Linked DNA regions of Homo sapiens: all the other regions are linked to region 5. Evidence: promoter capture Hi-C in 16 types of primary human blood cells and fetal thymus (Javierre and others, 2016). All regions are on one chromosome and are shown on one strand. Each heading gives the region's core, a stretch centred on a gene start or on the middle of the fragment in contact. The rest is flanking DNA. Distances are from core to core; before and after follow the strand shown.

Region 1 (4,670 bases), core at 1,224-3,723, 510 kb before region 5:
TCAAGTGTGTATGCCAAAACAAACAAACAAACAAAACTAATACAAAAAGCAATTAGGTAGTTGAAAAGATAACCAAGATGAGAGGCAATGGAGCAAGTAGTGAGAATTGGCTAGTCTAGAGAAATAACTTTGATAGTGGAGCTGAAGGAGTTTGATGATTAATAATTTCCAAAACATAAGGAATGGAATCATCCAAGATGATTCCTAAGTTTTTGATCTGAGCACTTCTATGAATGATGTGGGAATTTATTGTGATTAGAAAGACTGGGAAGGAGTTGTTTTGGACAGGAAAATTAAGTTTTGTTCTGTACACTTTAGGCTCAAGATGTCTCTTACACATCTGAATGGAGATGTTGCACCAGAAGCTGGATACAAAAGTTTGAATTTGCTCATGCTTGGGAATACAGATTTGATGGTGATAAACATATTGGTGCTACTGAAAGCCTTGAAGCTGGATGTGATCATCTGGGGACTGAAAGCAGAAAAAGAAAAGAGGCACAAGAACTTAAGTGTTATAATATTTAGAGGCTAAAAGGAGAAAGAGGATAGAGTAATCTGAAAAAGTCTACCAATAAGGAAGGTGGAAAATTAGGAAATGTGGTATTCTAATAGGAACCAATTCCAAGTGAAACAGGCATTTCAGAAAGGTGGAAGGGATCAAATTTATGTAATGCTCCTAGAGAAATAAAAGGCTTATGGAAGATTGGAAGATCAAATGAGGTGAGAACTGTGCATTACATATAGGAATATGGGGGTGATCTTGATGAAATCTAATTCAGTATAATGCTTGAAACTAAGCTAATGGAAATGGTGAGGTCATTGATAATGAACTAGGTTAAGTAATGTGTGAGAGTGGAGAATGACAATAAGGGTGGAGAGTTCCAATAAGGTGATGGAACTGAGACACCAGGGTGTTAAATAATTGTCTATTGGTTGCTAGTCTCTAAAAAGACACTAGGAACTAAAATCTTTAATGAATGAAGGATGTATTTATTGGAACGTTGCTAGATAATTGCAACAAAAATAGTGGTGTAGTCTGAGGGCATATATATTAAAGAAGATTCTCTTTTTAATGGTAAAGGAATGAGAAAGTGTCCAGAACTCTAATATGGAGCAAGGAGGATACCTAACTCATCTCTTACACTTATGATATGCAAGGTATGGGATTAAAAATAGTCATCACATAAGACCACTGGAGAGGTCTGTAGGAGAAATAGTATCTATAGTGTATAGCTAGGTATCATTTAGAAGGCAACACTTAGAGCAGATGATAAGAATATAGAGAGTTGCAGAAGTGAGAACATGAGTTCTAGAGGACATTGAAGGTTTGGACAGGCATAGGAGATTAAGTCAGATAGAGGATATACAGAGTCTTGGGTGGCTGAGTATCTAACGAGACATGTAACTGGGAAGACTTGAAGTTCAGATGGAGATTGAGATAGAATGAGATGTTCAGCATAATGAGATTTATTAAAGAGAGGACTTATGAATTCTTCAGTACCTGTCTGTCTGCCTCTGTACTTGGTGAAAAAATGAAGCTGTTATTTTCTAGGTTTACTGCTGTTCTGGACCACAAAAAAGGATACTGAAGTTGGTCCATGGCCTGCTGGTTGATGGTTCCCATGCTATTGTACACGAAGGTGCTGCTCAGGAGGATGGCCAAGGCAAAGATCCAGGAGTCATTCTCATTGTCACCCTGTAAGTCATTGTAGAAGCCACAAAGAAGAATGACTAGCAGAATGTACAATCAATTCAGATAGCTGAAGACTGACTGAACTCCAACTCTGTCTCTCATTAGTTCTGAAAACTTAGGTAACTCACTTCCTTATGCAGTATTTTTTTCTACCTGTAGAACAAATTTATAATATTTATGATGTATAATTTAAGGTGTTATATATAAATATATGTCAGCAGGAAACACATGAGCACTTGGTAGGAGAAGCTATTTTGATCAGCTACTAAAATTCAAACTGGTACCCTAAACTTAGTTTATGACCCTATTCCATTTCCATGGCACATCATAGTAAGATATTTTTTACACAGTAGTTAAAATAAGCTCCTTTAATAAAAGCTTTCTATGTCTAAGATTTATAACAGTAGTAATATATTATCCTTAATGAGCAAAGATGTTATCATTAGATTTTACACTTTGCTTCTCTTTCTACTGGTGCTGGTGTGGATGTGAACATTTTTACTACCTTTGTGGGATCCCACTGTAAAAAGTCAGACATGTTTGTAAAACGTCTACTGAAGTTTATAAGCACCTTCAGCAGCCTCACCAAAACATTTTACTATAATATGAAAGAGAAATAACTGAAAACATCATTAGCCATTATTTCATAGGTTTACCCATAATTAATCAATTGAACTTATTGTGTACTCTGAATGCTTATACCACACAAATTTTAAGAAATAATATATTAATATAATTAACTAGAGCCCTAAATCAAGGAGTAGGAGTGATTGTGCAAAGATGGTTATCGATCTGACCTGGTTTATGTAGATTTTAATCTACCTAAGTGAAATTTTTAAAATACTTATTTTTTTTACCTTCTCTATATCTCCCAGGCCCTCAGTGTCGAGCAGAACTAGGGTGTGTTCTGGCTTCTTGGGATGAGGCACACACCACATCCAGATTCCCTTGGTGTGAGACTTCACTGTGGAGCCTAGAGAGAAGCCTGTAGAAGGAGAGGATAAAAGGGAAAAGAAATTACTTAGTAGGTGTTTCTGGAAATTGAGATAAAAGTTAACATAATTGAAGTTAAAAGAGATAAAAGAAAATACAACTGGCATAAATCTTAATTACAATCCTGGAAACAGGAAAATTAGATATTTAATACACACTGAAACATTCATATTTTTCTTAAAGTTCATTGAAAGCTTGCTGTCACTACATGAACATTTTAATAAATGTTTTATAAGTCATTATTATAGAAGTTAATTTTCTTTATTAACATTGTGTTCCTTCCAGAAAGGCACATTTATACCCTTAGTATAAAATAAAAGTAAAGTGGGAAGAGTCAGTTGACTGTAATCCTCCAAAGTCAATGTAAAGAGCCCATTAATGGACTGAAAGTTAGCTTTCAACATTCATTCTCATCTCTTTCTATGCTCACATCCCTAAGCTGGATGTTCGCCGTGTGTACGGACAGAAGGGGCTTAGAGCTTTGCTGGTGTCACTCACCGTTTTTCTTCCCAGCCAGCTTGTTCATCAGGTAGGATTTGCCTGTGCGATAGAGGCCCACAATCGCCACCACCACCACAGGCTGCGTAATTGCAGATAGGATCTTCAGAGCTTCTGGATTCACCACCAGCTGCCCTTTAGTGTTATCAATGAGGCTCATTGGGCCCGGCAAGTTGATCTCTGGAGCCATGTCCAGGGTGTTGTTCCCTTGTGTGCAAGGAAAAAGATGAAATGGAAAGCAGTTTTTAGGTAGTTAGCTATGCTGAACTTTACAATATGGGTTAAATTTTTGTTTTCTATGCTTGAACATTTTTTCATATACGTTTTTTAAAGCCTGGTTTCTCTTTAAGGCTGTCTTACAAATTGGGTCACTGGCTTTCTTTAAAAATAACTTTATTTTGAAATACACTTACAGAAAAGATGTACAATGGGTATGGAAAGTTCCCATATATCATTTCCCCTAAAGTTAAAATTTTCCATAACCATAGAACAAGGATTTTAACATTGGTAGAGTGATAACTAATTTACACTCCTTATTCACATTTCACCAGTTTCCCACTAATGTCCTTCTGCTCCATGACCCAATCCAGGATTCCTCATTGCATTTAGTCATTATGTTTCTGTATTTTCCTTGCATCTTTGATAGTTCCTTATTCTTTCCTTGTCTTTCATGTCTTTGACATTTTAGAAGTTGACTGGCTATGATTTTGTAGAATATCCCTCAATTTGGGTTTTTTGATGTTTCCTTATTATTAGATTGAAGTTATACATTTTTTTTTGCAAATGTCACCAAAGTGATGTTCTGCCATTTTCAGTGTCTTGTATTAAGGGATTCATGATGTTGACATGACTTTTTCTGGTGCTGTGACCTTAACTTTGATCACTTGGTTAAGGTGTTCTCTGCCAGGTTTCTCTACCACAAAGTGTTATGTACCATTTTGTCACTAAAAAGTACCATTTGAAGAGACAGTTTGAAGACTATGCAAATAAAGATTCATCATACTTCCATAATTTTTTCAGTCACTATTTTTAGCATCTGTTGATAATTCTTGCTTATAACTTACTGTGATGTTTGACTAAAAGTAATTTTCTATTTTCATTCCTTCTACATTTATTAGAGTTCTAATGTGAGCAAGAACTGCCCTTTCTCCTCTATTTATTTTATTTACTTATTTAATCATTTAGTTGTATCAGTGTAGATCTATAGTAGATCAGTGTAGATTTATCATATGGGTAACACTTTACTATCACTATTTATCTCATTGCTCAACTCGTCCCAGATTAGTTCACTGAGAGCTCCTTCAAGCTGTAGCCCAGGTACTATGGACGTGCTTCCATCATATTTTCAGTGCGTCTTTCCTTCTGACATTACAATATATGCCAGGCTTATCTAATATTTTTTCTGCTTCAGCCTTAGAATCGACCATTTCTCCCAAGGGCTCTGGTTGCTTTCATTGGATAATGGTAGATAGACAACAAGATTATC
Region 2 (4,832 bases), core at 1,157-3,656, 650 kb before region 5:
CTTGGATTACCGGCATGCGCCACCACACCTGGCTAATTTTTGTATTTTAGTAGAGCAGGGTTTCACCATGTTGGCCATGCTGGTATGGAACTCCTAGCCCAAGTGATCCGCCTGCCTCGGCCTCCCAGTGTTGGGATTATAAGGGTGAGCTACCACGGCTGGCCTTAACTGGAACTTTGAAACAACATATAGTTTGTTACTTTATTTTATAAAGAATTATTTGTGCCTGATACGCTGTAGCTATTTAACATCTGTTGACTGAACAGATCTGCTGAGTGAAAGGGAAGCAATTTGGACTCCCTCTGAGAGATAATGTATTTGGGGAAAAAATTGTACTTCAATAGAAAACTATGCACTGGCCACAGCACAGCTTTAGGGCTGATATTTGCAGGGCTAGAATTTGCCTTTGAGTTATTCTGGGCTTTTGTAAATTGAAGCTAAGTGACAGGCATGCAAATTCTGGTTCTAGCATTTTGATTATCTTCCCTCCACCCTGTAGAAAAAACAGTTTTGCCTTCATTTGCAATCCAATTCCTTTACTACATATGAATTTGTGCTTTTTGACTTTCCATATGTACTGGTTATAACTTCTGTCTGGTTACTTCATATCACATGAGTGAAATAAAAATCTTTAGCACATGTTCATTTTTATATTTGTATGAGTCATGATTTAACCTTTTTCTGAAAATTATATTTTAACAATTACTTCAGAGAAACAAGCTTATTGGAAACAAGGCTTTCTCTAAATCTGAAAGCTGATAACAGCTAAATACATGGCTGGAATGCCAGAAATGGAGTCAGGCCAAGTGGAGAACAAAAAGCCTGGTTTATTCTCTCAAAAAAAATTGGGTTCAAGCCAAGACCTTGGAAGAGTGAGTAAGTGAAGGGAGTGCGTGAGTATTGTCCTCACCCATATCAATAGGCCTGGGGCCCTTCTGCCTGCCTACACTGTGTAATCTCAGCTCCCCCAATCACAGCTATAAATCAGAGTTGGACAGTCAGGCTGAACCAATCAAGACAACTAGAAGTTTGGGTTTGAGGCTGAGAAACAGGCTGTTTCTTCTGGGCACATGAAACAGAAGATTGGTAAGTTTGAATCTGGGCAAGTCTGTGTTCAATCCCTCACACACATGCCATGTTCTGTGCCAAAAACACACCTACGTTCCAAGTATATTGTTCAAGGTTGTTTAATGCAAAGAGCTTTCAAGCCAGATAGATCTTAGTTCAAAATTAAACATCAAAACTCCTAGTGTGTGAAGTAGGCAGGTTACCTGACATCTCTGAAATTCAGTTTCCTTATTTGCTAAGCAGGAAAATGAATACCTGCCCCATGTAAGTGCTATGGCAATTAAATGAGGCAAAGCCATAAGCAGAAAAATATAGTTCATGGCATACAATATATATACTCCAAAACTAGTGCCCACTCAGAAAGTAGGAAAGATTCTCTTAGATACAAGTAAGGATGAGTAACTTTGCACTAAAGGAGGCAAAGAGATATTGGGTATGGACTAAATGTACAAAAGGTGATACTTTCACATCAAAAGAGAGGGTTGGGCTGGACGCAGTGACTCATGCCTGTAATCTCAGCACTTTGGGAGGCTGAGGAGGGTGGATCACTTGAGCCCAGTAGTTTGAGACCAGCCTGGCCAACATGGCAAAACCCCGTCTCTACAAAAAATACAAATATTGGCCGGGAGTGGTGGCGGGCACCTATAGTCCCAGCTACTCAGGAGGCTGAGGCAGGAGAATTGCTTGAACCCGAGAGGCGGAGGCTGCAGTGAGCCGAGATTGCGCCATTGCACTCCAGCCTGGGCGGCAAGAGTGAGAGACTGTATGAAAAAAAAAAAAGAGAGAGAGAGAGAGACAGAGAGAGTTGATTTCCTTAAGGAAGGACAGACCTAAGGAAAAGGTTTTGTCCAGTGTTGCTTTTGCGCTTCTCTGGTGGACATTTAAATTTTAGACTCTCTTAAAAAAAAAAAAATTAATAGACTATTTTAGGGCCAGGCGCGGTGGCTCACGCCTGTAATCCCAGCACTTTGGGAGGCCGAGGCAGGTGGATCACAAGGTCAGGAGATTGAGACCATCCTGGACTACAGGTGTGTGCCCAGCTAATGTTTTGTATGTTTAATAGAGATGAGGTTTTGCCATGTTGCCCAGGCTGGTCTTGAACTCCTGGTCTCAAGCGATCCACTGGCCTCAGCCTCCCAAAGTGCTGGGATTGCAGGTGTTAGCCACTGCGCCCCGCCTACATTTTTCCTTTAGCATTCAAAACATTCTTTAAAATTAGAGAATATGTAAAATGTTTTTGTAAAAAAGCAAGTAATACAGGAAAATACAGCCTATCCTTCATTCTATTCCCTTCCCGGCAGATTTTCATGACATTAAGGATGATGTGGATGAAACGAATATTCTAAGTAAGTTCACAGTAACTTATCTGGCTGGTTCTGACAAGTCTTTCTTGATTTAAACTTATCACTATTGCTTTTGTAACACTGGCCAGTGTTTTTCATTCGTCCAGCAATAGGAAGAATATTTATCTTTATCCCTGTGCGACTATTTTAAATGCAAAGCCTCTGATGAACTGTAGACACTTTTCCAATGTAGTTAAAATGATACAAACACTTTGGCAGTTACTTAATTAAACATAAAGCTACCACACAACCCAACCATTCCACTGCTAGGTATGGAGAGGGGTTAGTGCTATCCCAAATAGTCCACAAGTTTGAATAATGCATTGTCAGTGGTTTTTGCCTGGGACATACATCAGAATCAGCTGGAAAGATTTTTCAAAATACATTCCAGATATGTAGAATTAGAATGCATAATGGTGAGCCCTGGCATACGTAGTCTAATAAAAGTTCCACAAATGAGGATTGTGCACACAAATGCCCTTTTAGTGCCATGGTTTCATATGTTCACCTTGGGGAAGCACAACCACTTCCCTGGCTTCAACCGACTTCTATGTTGGGAGAGGGCCTGAAAAAGGTGGTCACGGTGGCATAAAGAGGAGAGAATTCAAGACAGTTATGAGGTAGAATTCATAAGATTTACATATAGAAGACACTGATGATGGTTTTTATGAAAATTTTAAACCACTGAGAAAATTTTAAACCAGTTGAGAGATTAGAATTAGGTTGAATACAAAATTGTCAATATTCAACCAGTTATGACAAAAATGGTACTTCATATGCCAAAAATGGAATTTTCATACAAAAATAGCAATTTCATATACTTTAACCTAATATAAAACACTCATATGCACACTACCCAGATTCAGTAATTCTCAAGATTTTGCCTCTTTTTTTCTGTAATTGCTGAGTAACTTTAGAATAAATCTTAGACCTTAGGTCATTACATCCCTACATACTTGGCATATTATCTAAAAAATATTGCTACTTATATAACTGCAATTTCATTACCACACCTCACCAACAATAATTTCTTGTTAACATCTAATACCCAGTCCACATTCGTATCTCTCTGATTGTCTTTAAAAAATGTCTTTCTGCATTTTGGTTGACTGAATCAAGTTCCTAAAGCAGATGTACGTATTGTATTTGGTGGTTATGGGTTTTAAACCTTTTTCGATCCCTGAGCAGTCCTCCTGAAATATCCTCTTCTACTTTTTTCCCATGCCACTGGACCTATATTCATAACTTGAAGGGTTTTGTGAAGACAAAATGAGGTAATGAATATATAATGACCAGCACATGGCCTGATCCACAGACAGGCAAGCAGTTGCTCAGTGAATGTCAATTCTAGTCAATGACAAGAGACACCTTCAGCATATGTAATAGAAATGTTCATTTCAATAAAGTATTTGTAAAAAAGCATCTGAAAAATTACATATTTTTTGGACAGTGCAGAATATGTACAATAATTTATCTGTAAGTAAGCAATACCTACAGCAGAAGTAGAGAATCCGAGGATTTTGGAAGAAGAAATTGTCTTCAGGAATTTTGCTCTACCGCTAAGAGAGCAGAGGCTCCTCTGGGCCAAAAACATGCTATTAAATAAAAGAAAAATTGAGAAGAGGAATAAATATATGATGGGTACATCACTATCAGACACTTACAGCTAGCTGATGTATCATAAGCTTACGTAAAATCCAAGTAAACATTTTTGATAAGTGAGTTTGCTTTCTTTCAAGTTTTCTTTCTATGATATAATCTCTCATCACTGGAGGCATTCTAATAAATGTATTCTTCCTACACAAATTTATATTCACATCATTTTAAACTAGAGAGCTTTAAGAATATTCTTAATTAAAAAAATAAGGCTTTAATTTAGTCAAGAGCATTAAATTTCAGAAAGTGAAAGTTCCATTTCTAGCAGCTATAAAATCCAGAGTATTTCAATCTAGGAACTACTCAAATTTCAGAATCCTCTGGATAACAGTCACTAGTAAAAGCATAGTTTGTAACAGTAAATTAAAGTTGTTAGAAACAGTTATTTAAAAAGTTGTTTGAAAAGACGAATGATAGTAGGTCCTTGATAAATATAAAGAATATATGAGTGAATCTTAGGTTATTCTGAAGGTACTTCCTCCAACAATTCCCACAAGCCATTTTAGTGGATTCCAGTGGCATGATAGGCATGCATTCTGAATTGCTTCTCTACCTGTAAGTATAAAATTGATATCCGTCATGGGTAAATGGAGGAAGATCAAGGCAATGAAACTATTACAATACTGCCACTTAGAAGTGGAAAGAAAACCCAGCTTTCTAAAAACATTCAGGCAAATAGATATTTCTCATAAGGTTTTACTCTGAGAATGTTGTTCTCTTAAGTCTACTGTATAAGGCTGCTGTATCAGTGGATGGCATGTCGTC
Region 3 (4,546 bases), core at 926-3,425, 570 kb before region 5:
TGGAGCTTTTGTTTAGTTAATACAGTTTCTGTTAGGCAAGATGAAAGATTTCTGGATATGGATGGAGGTGACAGCTGTATAACAATGTGAATTTCATTAATGCTACAGAGCTGTACACTTAAAAATGGTTACGAGGTTAAATTTTATTTTTTTTACAACAACAAAAAATAATATCCACTACAGATTGAAACATTTTTTCAACCTTAAAGATCACTGTGAACTCTGTTATTGCATAAAAATTGTAATAAACATTGTATAGTTTATTATAGTTATTATTATGTACATTAATTATTTTTATTACTGTCTTACTCCTTTTAGGAGAGGCATAATTTGTGCTTTTGAAATGGAAACTAAGGTATCATGGGAATAATTAATGAATTGATTCTTATCCCCTAGAACAGCGTGAAGATAAGGAGCCCGACTGTGAATGGAAAGTTAGCTTTCAGTATTCATCCTCATCTCTTTCTCTCCTCACATCTTCATAATGGAGGCTGACTGTGTAGATGGACAGAAGGGACTTGGCAGAGCTTTGCTCATGCCACTCACCCTTTTTCTTTCCAGCCAGCTTGTTCATCAGGTAGGATTTGCCTGTGCGGTAGAGGCCCACAATTGCCACCACCACCATAGGCTGTGTAATGGCAGAAAGGATCTTCAGAGCTTCTGGATTCGCCATCAGTCGCCCATTAGTGTTCTCAATGAGGCACATTGGGCCTGTCATGTGGATCTCTGATGCCATGTCCAGGCTGTTCCCTTGTCTGCAAGAGAAGAGGTGAAATACATGAGAATTTCTAGTGTTTTGCAATTATAAGGGAGAATCATAAGATTCCCCAGTATGGCCAAAAGTTTTGTGTGTGACAGCAAAAGAGATGAGGCAAAATCTGTATCATTTGAGAAAGTTATGGAAGTATTGTCAAAGTAGCTCATTATGAAAAATGTTAGCATGACAGTGACTTATCAACACTCAACTACTCTCACGACCCAAATATTTCATTTAGTTTATTGTGGAAAACTTTCTTTTTGGATTCTTATTAGATATTTTCACTAGTCAATTAATGGAAGATAGAATAGGATTTAGAGGATTTATTTGCATCCTGGCTGTATGTAAGGAATTCAATATTGATTCACTTATTAATTCTCACAGTGAATAAACATCCAACACAGTGAATCAGTATTCATAGTTTGATGTTTACCCTTAGAAAAATTTCCAAAGATTTTTAAATGTGTTCCTTCCTCCATCTTCAAATGATTATGCTTATTTCACTGCAATGAGGATTGACAAAGCTTCTCACATTGCCATTCTGGAAGTGGTAACAATGTAACATACTTTTGCAAATTTTATAAAACTATACAACCATGTGAAACACATGGCTAGGGAACCTTCCAAGGGCTCCTAAGGGTCATGTCCAAGAGAAGGGCCCTGAAACTTAAGCTTCATTAGAGTCACGATAAGATAGCTTCTAAGTCACTGAGGGTATGAATGCAAAATTGCAAATACTGAATGTTTCCTCCAGATAATAAGGATTAAAAGATCAAGAGGCAGATAAAGAGAGCTACCTAGGAAGTTGTTCAAATAAAATATATTTCCAGCGATACAGCTTTAGGATTTCTGTTTTGTTCTGTTTTCCATTTGGTAGGGTAGGAGAAAGAGAAATAGAAAGAGGAGGAATAGTAGGAGTGGAGAGGAGGATAAGGGGCTGGGAATGTGTGTGTGTGTGTGTGTGTGTGTGTGTGTGTGTGTGTGTGAGAGAGAGAGAGAGAGAGAGAGAGAGAGAGAGAGGAGCTGTCAGACCAGAGGTGATGAATGAGGCTAGTGTCTTGACAAGGCATTCAGGGGAAGACTTTGCAGAAGGCAGGATCAAAGTAGTCTGAGTGCATGGAGAGGTTAAAGTAAGCAAAGATATTTTCTGTAGAGATGCATTACAGGAGAATTAAAGAGGAAACACTTTTGGCCCTGCTCTCTACTAAAAGAAGACAAAATTGGAAGCACTTCAGTGAAGCAGTGGGGTTGAATTTCACTTCTAAGGGACAGGGATCAGTGGGCACTAGGAAATTAGTGAGTCTGGACTATTTCTAAAGAAAGTAATCCATTCTGAAACAAAGTTCACAAGTGTAATAAAAAGTATACTGTTTTCATGAATCTTCATCTTTCAGGCTGAGTTTCAGTTTTTTCTTTGTCTTTAACCGTGTCAGTGGGCTGCTTACTCTGCTTCTCATTTGCTGTTCTTTCCTTCCATGAAAAGAACCCGTTTGTAACTCTTCCATTTCTTAGCTGCATAGAAGCAGGATTCAGTCCATCACTGACGATGGAAATGTAATCATATCCCTAGTCAACATAGATAATGTCAACAAAGAGAAAGACTATCCTAGTACATTTCAAATGCTCAGTTTAGCCCCTGTCTACTGGTGCCTAATTCAACACAAGCACTGTAGTGGCACTTAAGGCCATGCTGTCCCTGATAACACCAGGATTTCATCTGACCTGCGTCCCACTTCAGGCTCATCTGCAGCCTAATTTGGTTCTGATGATGTTTAAGAAAATGAACTGACCTTTATAAATTCCTTCCCATCCCTGCCACAACCTTATAGGTTCCATATCACTGAGCTGAGATCCTTTGGAGCTAGAGAGAAAGCTGCTTGATGAGAAGTAGTAAAAGTTCTTACCTGTTCTTTTTCTCCTTAGTTCACGAGCACTGGCTTCTAGCACTTCTGTGTCTCTCACTGGATCCCTGGACTAATATTTCACTGTTCCGAAGTTGTAGGGCTGGGATTTCCTCATTGATGAAATATTTAGAAGCTAAGCAGATTTGTAATGGATTTAGAGTAATATGAAACTGAAAGTACTTCGTTCAAATCACTGACTCCACTACCATAAATGGAATTAGTGGAGTGTGCCAGTGGGAGGGTTTAAAGATTTCTCAACCAGAAGCTTCAAATTTTTTTTGTTGTTGTTGGAAATCTTAGAGACCATTTGTTGTCTAACAAAATGCCCATTAGGTTTTGAATACAATGATACATGTCTCATGGATTGAGTCAATTTGAGAAACCTAGAATGAGGAGGCATCATGTTAATTTTCAGCTACAATTTCCTAAAATAATAGACACACTCTCAATGGAGCTGCCTATTCTTTGAGAGGTGCAGTACATAAGGAAAGGACATGTTTAACACACTCATGAACACCTAACCCCTGGCACTTAATGCCCAGCACACAGCCAGGAGGGGGCTCCATGTGTTGTACTCATGTTCTAGGCTCAGTACTGATGGCTTTACATGAATCGCACAACTGAAAACTCATAATATTTCCTCATGGTTTTATAGAAACTGAGCACAGAAAGACTTTATTAGTTGTCTAAAATCATAACACTGTAACTAATCTGAACCCAAGCACTCATGATCCCATACCCTCTTCTTGAACCACTTCACTATGCTGCTTATTTACTAAGTGAAAAATTGTAGAAATATTTTATTTATAGGTTTTTTATTTTTAAATTTATTATAGTGTGATTTTATTTTTATAGATTGTTTTCTAAGAGCTGTTTGTGTTTTATGTCTAATTCAGTAATGACTTCTAGCATACAGAATAAGTGGCATTATCTCTATTTTACAGCAAAAGCAAATAAAATAGTAAAAAGCCTGAGTGAACATTTCATTTAAAAATATATTTATAGTGATGTGGTTTCACTTTGTTGCTTAGGTTGGTCTTGAACTCCTTCCTTCAAATGATCCCCCTGCCTCGGCCTCCCAAATTGCTGGGATTATAGGCATGAGCCACCAGACCCAACCTTGTGTGAGCATTTCTTTTTTTTTCTTTTTCTTTTTCTTTTTTTTTTTTTTTTTTTTTGAGATGGAGTTTCACTCTTGTTGCCCAGGCTGGAGTGCAGTGGCACGATCTCGGCTCACTGCAACCTCCGCCTCCTGGGTTCAATCAATTCTCCTGCCTCAGCCTCCCAAGTAGCTGGGACTACAGGCATGTACCACTATCCTGGCTAATTTTGTATTTTTAGTAGAGATGGGGTTTCTCCATGGTGGTCAGGCTGGTCTCGAACTCCCGACCTCAGATGATCCACCCACCTTGGCCTCCCAAAGTGCTGGGATTACAAGTGTGAGCCACCAGGCCTGGCCAAGCATTTCTCACTTACACATTAAAATTATATATTAGATGTATATAAATTGCAGATACAGTGTCTTTTCTCATTCATACTTTGTAAAATAATTTTATCTAAACTCTTTCTATCATCCTTCCTTAACACTGTAGCTCCTTTATTATTAAAACTACTTTAAAGTCTTTTACTTTTTAGAGCATAACATTCTTACATCTGTCAAAATTATTTGAACCATTTAAAATCTCTGCAGATTGTCCTGGAAGTGTAGGGGTGGGTTGCCCCTCCACACCTGTGGGTGTTTCTCGTAAGGTGGAACGAGAGACTTAGGAAAGAAAAAGACACAGAGACAAAGTAGAGAGAAAGAAATAAGGGGAGCCGGGGAACCAGCGTTCAGCATATGGAGGATCCCGCCAGCCTCTGAGTTCCCTTAGTATTTATTGATCAT
Region 4 (4,617 bases), core at 1,581-4,080, 670 kb before region 5:
TTTTTTAAAATTTCCTACATTTAGAGTATTCCCACACTATTTGTCATGAAGGCTTGCTAATGATTAAAACTTCTTACTAAATAAAGGGTTTGGGATTATATAATTTCAAAGTATTTGCTTTGAATAAAAATCAACCATTTGTATTTTTTGACAGTAATTAAATCATATTGAAAAGAGTTGGATTTGTTTCCCAGTTAAAATAAGTGAAAAAAACCCACTTTAACTGTATACCCACTCCTTGGCTCTTCCTGATTGCTGGAGAGATGGTTATGCCAACCAATGGACTAGGGAAAGAGAACAAAAACAAATTCACCAACGACACGAACACTAGTGTTGATGTGATAGCAAATGTTAGAAGGAAGTGAGACACTACTCACACTGACAGTCAAGAGAGCAGTGGTTATCCAAGGTAACTACTTTCATAGGAGAAGTGAAGGGATTATGAAGGTACAGCCTGAGGCAAGCAGGGGGTCTGAAGACTCCTGGATTAGCTCTCCCTAAGTTCTCTTCTAGGCTCTCTCCCCTTCCTTCCTTTTTTTTCTTCCTTTTCCTTTCCCCCTCCTTGTTTTATTTGGTATTTAGGTCAATATTTCCTGTTGTTTTCTGTCCAGCATCTACCTCCTCATTTTGCTTTTGAAGTACCATCCTGATTTTCTATCCCTTGAGAGTAAGAGTGCAAGTGCAGGTCATGTACCTTTGTTTGAAAGCACTTTGGGCTCTGGAGCAATAAACTGAGTTCCTTTGAATTTTACTTTAATAGCAGGTCTAACAAATTCTAGCAAGAGGAGATCTGAAAAGCAACTATAAACACTATATACATTTCTTAGAATGATAAGTGTTTGTGCTTTTAAAATTAAAAATTTAAATACAAAAATAATTTATGCTTCATGCAATAAGTAAAACTAGGCAAAGATGTATAAAAATTACAATCGCTCCTCAATATTATTTCATTCCCATCCCCCTGAGGTGATGAATGTCCACAGCCTGGTGATAGTGCAACACCACTCTCAGTGCTTATACCAATATAAAAACACATAGACATGTATATACCTATGTATTTACAAAAACTAGAATATACATATTAATAAATAAGTGGGTATGGTTGTGTTCTAATGAAACTTTATTTACAAAATTTGACATATTGGGTCCATAGGCCATAGATTGCAAAACCCTGCTATAGACCAATTTGGGAAAACTGACATAGACAATATTTAGTCTCTCAATCCATGAACATCATTCCCAATTTATTTAGGTATTGCTTAATTTCTCTCAGTAATGTTTTATAGATTTCATCGTACAGATCTTGGATATATTTTAAAAAATTTATTCTTAAATGTTTTGTGTTTTGGGATACTACTATAAATAGTATTTAAAAAATTTTACTTTCTAATTGTTCATTTTAATATATAGAAATACAACTGATTTTTGTATATTGGCTTTGTGTCCTGTGACCTTGCTCAATTCATTTATTAGTTGTAGTAGGCTTTTTTTTCTTTTAGAATTCCTTAGGATATTCTATGTACACAATCATGTTTTCTGAAAATGAGTTTACATTTTTCTTCTTTCTAATCTATGTATCTTTATATCTCACAGGACTCCAGTACACTGATGAATAACAATGGTCAGAGTGGACATCTTTGCTGTCTTTTCAATCTTACTATATTATGTGCACTACAGGTGTAATCTGTAGGTTTCTCATAGATTCCTTTTATCAGAGTGAGAAAGCTCCATTCTATTTCTAATTGGCTGAAAACTTTTATTATAAATGAGGGTTGAATTTTGTCAGATGCATTTTCTATATATACTACATAAGATGATCTTTTTTTTCTGATAATATAGCATAATTGCAATGATTAATTTTTGGATATTAAAACTAATCCTGCATTCCTATGGTAAACCTTACTTGGTCAGGATGTATTACTTTTTATATCTTTATACACACAGGCACACACACATGCACACACACATATCTGGATTTGATTTGCTAAAATTTCATAATCTTTGTTTCTATGTTCATGAGAGATATTGAACTGGAGTTTTCTTTATTTCTTTCGCTGGCATTTTTTAAATCAGTTTTTGTATCAGGGTAATGCTGAAACTAATTTTATGAGACCAGCATTACCCTGATACAAAACCCCTGATTAAAAGTTCAGACAAAACCATTAGGCATTTCTTTATTTTTCAAATTACAAAAATTGTTGATCAATAAGTAAAAGTTTTTCATCCTGCTCCACTTTCTGAATAAATGTGTGCAGAACTGGTATTATTAGGTTTGTGCAAAAGTAATTGCGGTTTTTGTCATTAAAATTAATGGCAAAACCGCAATTACTTTTGCACTGACCTAATAGTTCTTCCTTAAATACTTGATAGAATTCACTAATAAGCCATCTAGGTATTGAGGTTTGTTTGCAGGAAGACTTTAATTACAAATTCATTTTCTTTCATTGACATAGGGCTAGTTGCATTTTTCATCTCTCCTTGTGTCAGTTTTGGTAATTTGTATCTTTTAAATAATCTGTTCATTTCATCCAAGTTGTCAATGTACTGACATAAAATTATCCATAATATTATCCTATTATTGCTTTCATGTTTGTATGATCAGTAATGATATTCCTTCTTTCATTCTTCATATGGTACTTTGAGTTTTTTCTTTTTTATTGGTCAATCTAGCTAAAACTTTTACTTATTGATCTTTTCAAAGAACCAGCTTTTGGTTTCATTAATTTTCTCTATTGTTGGTTTGTTTCTAGCCTTTCATTATGGATTTGTATAGGCTGGGGAGTGAGTTATGTTGAGTAGGTCTGAGATGGGGGTCTGTAGGGTGGGCCAGGGAGTGAGATCTATGAAGAGCAGGGATTCTCACCAGTGTCAAACCCTGTGACACAGGTAAGTTTCACTGCTTTTCCCTGTGCTATTCCCAAAGCAAAACCCTTCTATGGATTTTTATAGTTAGACCACTATAGAAGACAAAAAACAGGCTTCCTCCTATACCATTCCCCTCCCCATTTCCCACAATATCATAAAAGGAAAAGACAAGTGGTCAGACATATGATAATTGTATGGCTTTTGGCACAACAGATACAAGTCTACAGTTCAAAGGTACGTCTGATCTAGAAAATCTTTGGCTATCCTAGGCATTTCATTACAGAAGGATGGGAGTGAGCTGGCACAAGGAGGAAAAACGTAGCTAGTTGGATATATTAAATAAAGGGTCAGTGCTCAGGCTGCATAAATGTTGATGAGATAGAAAAGACATGTCTCAAGAGAATGTTGTTCCTTATCGTGTTGCCATAGGATCCTATCTTGGAGCAACAGTAAAGTAAGGGCCAAAAGAAAGAAAAGTGTAGAGGGGCTGGAAGTAGGCGAAGGCTCATCTCAGGACATAGGGCAAGGGCAGAAGTTTCTGTGGTTGCTAGGATGGGACAGCTGGTCCCAGAAAGTCACTTATATATGAATGACAGAAGGGCACATGCACACACACAGACACACACCCCAGTATAAAATAAAAGCTCATGGCCCATATGGTCTTGATATACTTACAAAGCCTCGTGTATACTGATTCAGGCTATCGATTGCTGCAATCTTTGATAATTCTTCTTTTACATATGTAGGAGGGGATATATCTGGAAAGCCTTGGCCAAGATTCACAACAGAAGGGTCTGCAGCCAATTTGGTAAATTCAATCCTAAGATTGAAAAAAATACTAATATTAATAAGTTCTACAATTATAAAGTTCGCTTTTTTATATCTTATAGTCTTACCACAAAACAGACAAATAAGACCCTAGTTTAGTCCTATAGGTTTTAAAAAATGAGTTTCCAACAAAAATTTACCAACCACAAATCAGTTTACCAAATAGAATGATGGCTGAATTTATGAACCCAATGTCCCTTACAAACCTCAGTTTCACGCTACCCATATTTTAACCACATATATATATTTTCTCAACAATTCCAGCTGCTGCTAAGTTCTTTCATCAACTATTAGAGAACAGAACTAATAAGAAAAGTTCCTGGATTGGAGGTTAAGTTCCATGAGGGCATTAACATTTGTCCTTTTCTCTGCCATATGTCCAGTGTCCAGCAAAGGGCATGGCACATGTGCCAAATGAACAATTCAGTATATGGATTGCTAACTTCCTTCCATTTTCATTTAATGGATGAATTAAATGAGGACCTTTATTTATAGACCATGGATGAGGCAAAAAAAACTCCCATCTAAAGATACGAAAATATGTAGGAAACCCTCACTAAATTATTATTTATTTTAAGATACTCACCACACATTACTATCAAGTCCTTCAATCCGTTTTGCATTTGTGAATTTCAGTGACATTTTCTGAAATATATAAATATTGAAAAGGAATTGCCTTAGTCAAAATTTTAAAAGCCAGTAAATCATGGGTCACTCTTCTTCCTTTTCCCTACTGTTACCATGTAAATAGTAGTTCCATAAAGATAAATCTTAGACTCCAACACAAAATTCTGAAGAGGAATTCATCTCCCACCTACTACTGAAGGAATGCCTTTTTTTTTTTTCTCAGACGTGGTTGCCCAGGCTGGAATGCAGTGGTGTGATCATGGCTCACTGCAGCTTCAACTATCCAGGCTCAAGTGA
Region 5 (4,308 bases), core at 366-2,865:
TGTTTAAATTCAGGTAAGGTAAGAGAATTGAAGAGGTAAAGCTACCTTAGAGAGTATTGCTGCATCTACCCTGGTGACTTACAAGGTACTTGAATTTTTTTTTTTCTAGCAAACTGCTAAAGTTAGCCTTTGCCTTTTTCCCAGAGACTCTCTAGGAATTTTTCCCATCTGCTGACTAGGAGGTAAGCCCGGACCTAAATTTTTGTCTTGTTGTAGGTTAATTAAGACTGGTGTTAGATTCAGCTCCTAAGGCCTAAGAGAATTTAAGGTTGTCTTCTGGGAAGGACACCCAACAGCAGCATTGGAATTGGAAAAAAAGTGTAGGATTTTGCTGAGTGAGCAGGGGGAAAGCAATGTAAAGCCCAAGAGAATATCTTTTGAACAAACGTCCTTTTCATTTTGGTTTAGAAATAGAAACGTGGTAAAAGGAGGCGACTGTTTTCTGAAGGCTTGTAGCACGAAAACAGGCCAACTGGCCAGCAACTAGTTGTCTATCAGTTTCTCTACTCACATACATCTGCCTTTTCCAGACTGCCAGCGCGGAGCACTAGTTTGACTTTGGGTGCTCTTCAAATAGCTGGCATTGATAAGGCATTCCCAGAAGACTGTGTTACTTAGTAATCTTGTCGGTACATTTTTTCACTGGGCAGAGATTTTCCAAACAGAGAGCTGCCAGCTTTCAAGACGTCAGAGTGCTTTTTCATCCTGAAATTGGGTGGGAAAATGGGGAGAAGAAAAGCACGGTTCAGATCAATCAATGAGAGAGAACCCCTCCCTCCATACTCGTTAAACAACAGGTGGTTTTGCTGTGCACCGTCAACTCCTTTATGCGGGAGCTGTAGGCGGGGCATTCCAACTGAGTCTCCCTGGAATCTGCCCCTTAGCCCGTATTGCAGGGGCGGTGCAGTTGGGGATTCCGGCCTGAAAGGAGACTTGGTTGTCAAGGGGCTCAAGGGCTTCATGATCCAAGGATATTGGGTTTTGCTTTTCTCCTTCTCCATCTTCCTCATTCTATCCCACCGTCCCCTCCCCACCCTTCTCTTAGGAGGCCTTCGCTTCTCCTGTGGAGGGGTTATCTTCATCCTGACCCTGGCCTTCGGAGGAGTTCCCAGAAGGGCTATTTTTAGTGGTGGCTGCTCCCCTCTAACTTACCCAGGGGAGGAGCTGCGGTGGCTGAGCCGACGCTGCGCGCACAGCCGCCTGTGGTTTTCCGCGCATTGTGAGGGATGAGGGGTGGAGGTGGTATTAGACGCAGCCGAATCCTCCCTCAGAGTCCGCCAGGTGGGCGTCTCAGGGGTGGGAGTGGCCGCGTCGTGAAGCGGAGAGAGGATTTCTCTCCTGGTCCTGGAGAAGGCCCCCGGCGGCCGGCGGCATCCCTCGCTGGCGAGTCCCGGGAGCGAGGTGGTCTCTGCAGGGGAGGAAGTTCCCGGGCGGCGCGGCCTGCGTCACAGCGGGGCTGGCACCGCGGAGTCGACTCGGCGGGCGGTGGCGACCCCGGGGCCGGGCGCTGGGCGGCGCTGGCTGCCGCTAGCCGGGCTGCGTGCGGGGCGGCGCTGGAGGCGGCTCCGTCCGCGGCCGGGGAGGCGGAGGGGAGGAGGGCTTGCGGGGCTGGGGCGTTAGCTGCGTCCCGGCTGGAAGCCCGCGAAGAGAAGTAGGAGGAAGGCGCCGCCGTGGCCGCGGCCGCAGTGCTCGGGCGCGACAAGCCATGAGCAGCGACCCCGCGGGCGACGCCGCCGTCCCTGGCAGCCGCTGAGCCCGACCCCCAGGCAGCTCGCCGCTCCCTAGCACCTTCTCCAGTCGACACTCTCGCGCCCGGAGGTAAGGGCGGGGGATCCGCGGAGGGATGGAGAGGGGCAGCCCGCAGAGGGCCACCCGCTCGGTCCGCTGTGCGCGCCGGACCGGGACTCGCCCCGCCTCACTCGCGTCCTTGCTTCCCCCCGGCTCTCAGACAGGCAGAATGTGGTTGCCCGCCCGGCGTGTGGTGCTGGGAACCTTCCGCTACTGCGGCTCAGGAGCCCGCCAACCCCTACCCCACCCAATCCGCGCTAGCCCGAGCGGCCGCGCGAGGATCTCAGCCTGGCGCCCAACGCCGCGCCGCAGCGGCAGGTCCTGCAGACTGGGCGCGGGGGTGGGGGGGCGGTCCGCGAGGGGAAATGCGTCCGTGGCCGGGGCGATCGTTGTTCTTTCCTACCTCGAAAATCTCTGAGACCCCGGGGCCAGTCCTTTCCGGTCTATCACCCCCCTGCCACCTCCGAACCCTTGAAGTTAGCACTTTTGGGCAGGGAAAGGAATTGGAAGGTTTCTCGAAGAAACGTGAGAGCACCGTGTGCTCACCTGCAGGACAGGAGGGAAGGGGTTCAGCTTGATCGGGCGGGCCCCAGAAGCCAGGTGTTTAGGCCAGCGGTTGAGGCCAAAACCGCTGCCTTCATCCCACGCCTAGGCTCGCTGATCTTTCCCTTTCCAGCTGGTTCCCACCAATGAGATGATTAGGGATGGAGTTAGCAACTCAGGAGCCTTAGATGTGTTCTGTGGACACGAATGCCTTTCTTTTCTCCCTCAGCCGGTTCTTCCCTCCCCAACCCCCACGCCTGCCCGGTATACAGCAAAGTCCAAACAGTTTCTTCCAAACCTCGCATCCTCCGTAGTTTTGCAACAGCCGGACACCTAGCCCGCATCCTAATGCGGATATTTCAGAGTATTACGGCTAAACTTCCCTTGGTTTCAAATTCCTTAAACATGTTAAAGCCTCAGCAAACGTTAGGAAACATTTTCAGGTTCCCATCCTCAAAGTAAAAAATAAGAACCAATCCATCTTTGTTGGAGTGCCGGTGTTTGGCACGGGGAGGCTTGAATTACCTCCATTTAAAGCAGCCTTTGAAGGAAGGAATAGGTAAAGGAAATCGCAGCCGTTTGTAAGTCACATACTTCTTTCGCGGTAGTGTGAGAAACGTAGCCTTAACCAACAGTCACATTTCCCGACAGGTATGTGATGGTTTCCCAAAGCATCGATGAGGCTTCAGCGTGGGCAGGTCATTAAGATGCCATTTAGACGAAAAAGGAGTAAAAGTGGAGTAGTCCTCTTGGTTAGCACAATGCTGCAAAATCGCCAGAGCCAATAATTTTTATACATTTATAAATTCTGTTTATTTTTAAATAATTTGTTGAAAACCCAAAACGTAATCTGAGCTGCATAAAACTCGCTCAATTCATAAACAATGTGTTGAGTGTGTAAACAAACATTAAATGTATACAGCTCTAGTCTAGGATATTTGCATTTCTTGTGACTTGCTTTAACAGGGAAGGCCAAGGCTATAATTGGTTTGCTTTACTCTGGAGTGATTAAGTTCTGTCTTGGGGTCAGTTTGTTTCCTTTGAGGGGGATGTAGGGCAGTTTTGCAAAGATGGATATTTGCCATGGTTCACATAATAGATTGGGCACAGACAGGACCCATCAACCCAACAATTGTATCAGAGATACCAAGTATATTTAACAATTTTCTTATTAATAAAATCAAGCCTTTATTAATAGTACTAATCTATTATTTCTCAGATTAAGCACTTTAATGAAATGTATTTTTAAAAGGGAATGCTTTTAGTGAAAATAATGCATTAGGAGCTGTAAGATAAATGAATGAAAATGTTGCACTTTATTTCCATGAAGTTTATCTTTTAAAAAACAATACAAAGTTAGAAATATGTTTAACTCCCAAGTGTTCAATTTTTACCAAATTGTTATGATTTTTAATACTCTATAGTATTATTAAGTTATAGTCACCTATGACATTATAATAGAGCGAGCCTAAGTTTAAAATGAAATGAGGTGGAAACTATATTTATTTTGCCAAGAATTGTGTTAATGATTTAATATGGTACATTGCTATAACATAATCTAGCTGCATGCTAGATACCTAATACACATTATCTCAGGTTCTTACAATGAACCCCTAAGGTAAATGGTGCCATCCACATTTTACATAAGAAGGAAGTTCAGAGTTTCTGATTTGGCTGAAGACTATGCAGCTAAGTTAGTGCCTGAATGAAGCCAAGCCTCCTTAGTCTTAATGATATACTTTTTTTTATTATCCAAAGCTGCTTATTTATTTTTTCTATATAAATTTGTTGTTAACTCACCATAGTGACTATATGAGGAAACAGAGATTGTAAAGTTTTCTGCCCAGCGTTTTCCATATAACAGAATTCCAATTTTGAATCAAGGCCATCTGTTTCTAAAACCCATGTTCTTGCCACTGATTTCTCTTAAATGACTGATCCAGAGCTTAACCTTATGGACAATTTACTCCTGCCCAT

Evidence for each region. Contacts are between HindIII fragments. The CHiCAGO score rates a contact against its expected background, and 5 or more counts as called.
Region 1: a contact is called between a fragment that was not itself captured here and the fragment with the promoter of LRRC8C in region 5, in 1 of 17 cell types (total CD8 T cells). The highest score is 6.0, in total CD8 T cells.
Region 2: a fragment that was not itself captured here is called in contact with the fragment with the promoter of LRRC8C in region 5 in 13 of 17 cell types (naive CD8 T cells, activated CD4 T cells, erythroblasts and 10 more); the score reaches 11.7 in naive CD8 T cells.
Region 3: a contact is called between a fragment that was not itself captured here and the fragment with the promoter of LRRC8C in region 5, in 4 of 17 cell types (total CD8 T cells, non-activated CD4 T cells, naive CD8 T cells and 1 more). The highest score is 6.5, in total CD8 T cells.
Region 4: a contact is called between a fragment that was not itself captured here and the fragment with the promoter of LRRC8C in region 5, in 1 of 17 cell types (activated CD4 T cells). The highest score is 5.5, in activated CD4 T cells.

What each region holds. Positions count from the first base shown.
Region 1 is chr1:89,118,593-89,123,262 of GRCh38, forward strand. GBP2 (guanylate binding protein 2) reads right to left here. Exons shown (of 11, transcript NM_004120.5): 2 at 3,185-3,391; 3 at 2,551-2,678; 4 at 1,587-1,696. The coding sequence starts at 3,374. LOC112268267 (a long non-coding RNA gene) reads left to right here. Exons shown (of 2, transcript XR_007066213.1): 2 at 319-4,670. Among named protein-coding and RNA genes, the nearest start is that of GBP2, 5.2 kb to the right of the region's middle. RefSeq lists a silencer at 3,074-3,368. The HindIII fragment of the contact is 809 bases long and covers 2,070-2,878 here.
Region 2 is chr1:88,984,346-88,989,177 of GRCh38, forward strand. KYAT3 (kynurenine aminotransferase 3) reads right to left here. Exons shown (of 14, transcript NM_001008661.3): 2 at 3,907-4,006. The coding sequence starts at 4,005. It overlaps RBMXL1 (RBMX like 1), which reads right to left. Exons shown (of 3, transcript NM_001162536.3): 2 at 3,907-4,006. Among named protein-coding and RNA genes, the nearest start is that of KYAT3, 5.9 kb to the right of the region's middle. The HindIII fragment of the contact is 3,376 bases long and covers 719-4,094 here.
Region 3 is chr1:89,062,499-89,067,044 of GRCh38, forward strand. It overlaps GBP1 (guanylate binding protein 1), which reads right to left and starts at 2,710. Exons shown (of 11, transcript NM_002053.3): 1 at 2,662-2,710; 2 at 547-755. The coding sequence starts at 736. The region is part of intron 2 of LOC105378841 (a long non-coding RNA gene); the gene reads left to right. RefSeq lists an enhancer at 2,907-3,006. The HindIII fragment of the contact is 1,497 bases long and covers 1,428-2,924 here.
Region 4 is chr1:88,965,130-88,969,746 of GRCh38, forward strand. It overlaps KYAT3 (kynurenine aminotransferase 3), which reads right to left. Exons shown (of 14, transcript NM_001008661.3): 3 at 4,280-4,338; 4 at 3,541-3,685. Among named protein-coding and RNA genes, the nearest start is that of KYAT3, 25 kb to the right of the region's middle. The HindIII fragment of the contact is 6,056 bases long and covers 1-4,617 here.
Region 5 is chr1:89,631,505-89,635,812 of GRCh38, forward strand. It overlaps LRRC8C (leucine rich repeat containing 8 VRAC subunit C), which reads left to right and starts at 1,616. Exons shown (of 3, transcript NM_032270.5): 1 at 1,616-1,818. It overlaps LRRC8C-DT (LRRC8C divergent transcript), which reads right to left and starts at 1,390. Exons shown (of 3, transcript NR_033981.1): 1 at 1,153-1,390; 2 at 512-705. RefSeq lists a silencer at 1,418-2,077 and enhancers at 2,458-2,507, 2,538-2,587. The HindIII fragment of the contact is 6,667 bases long and covers 1-4,308 here.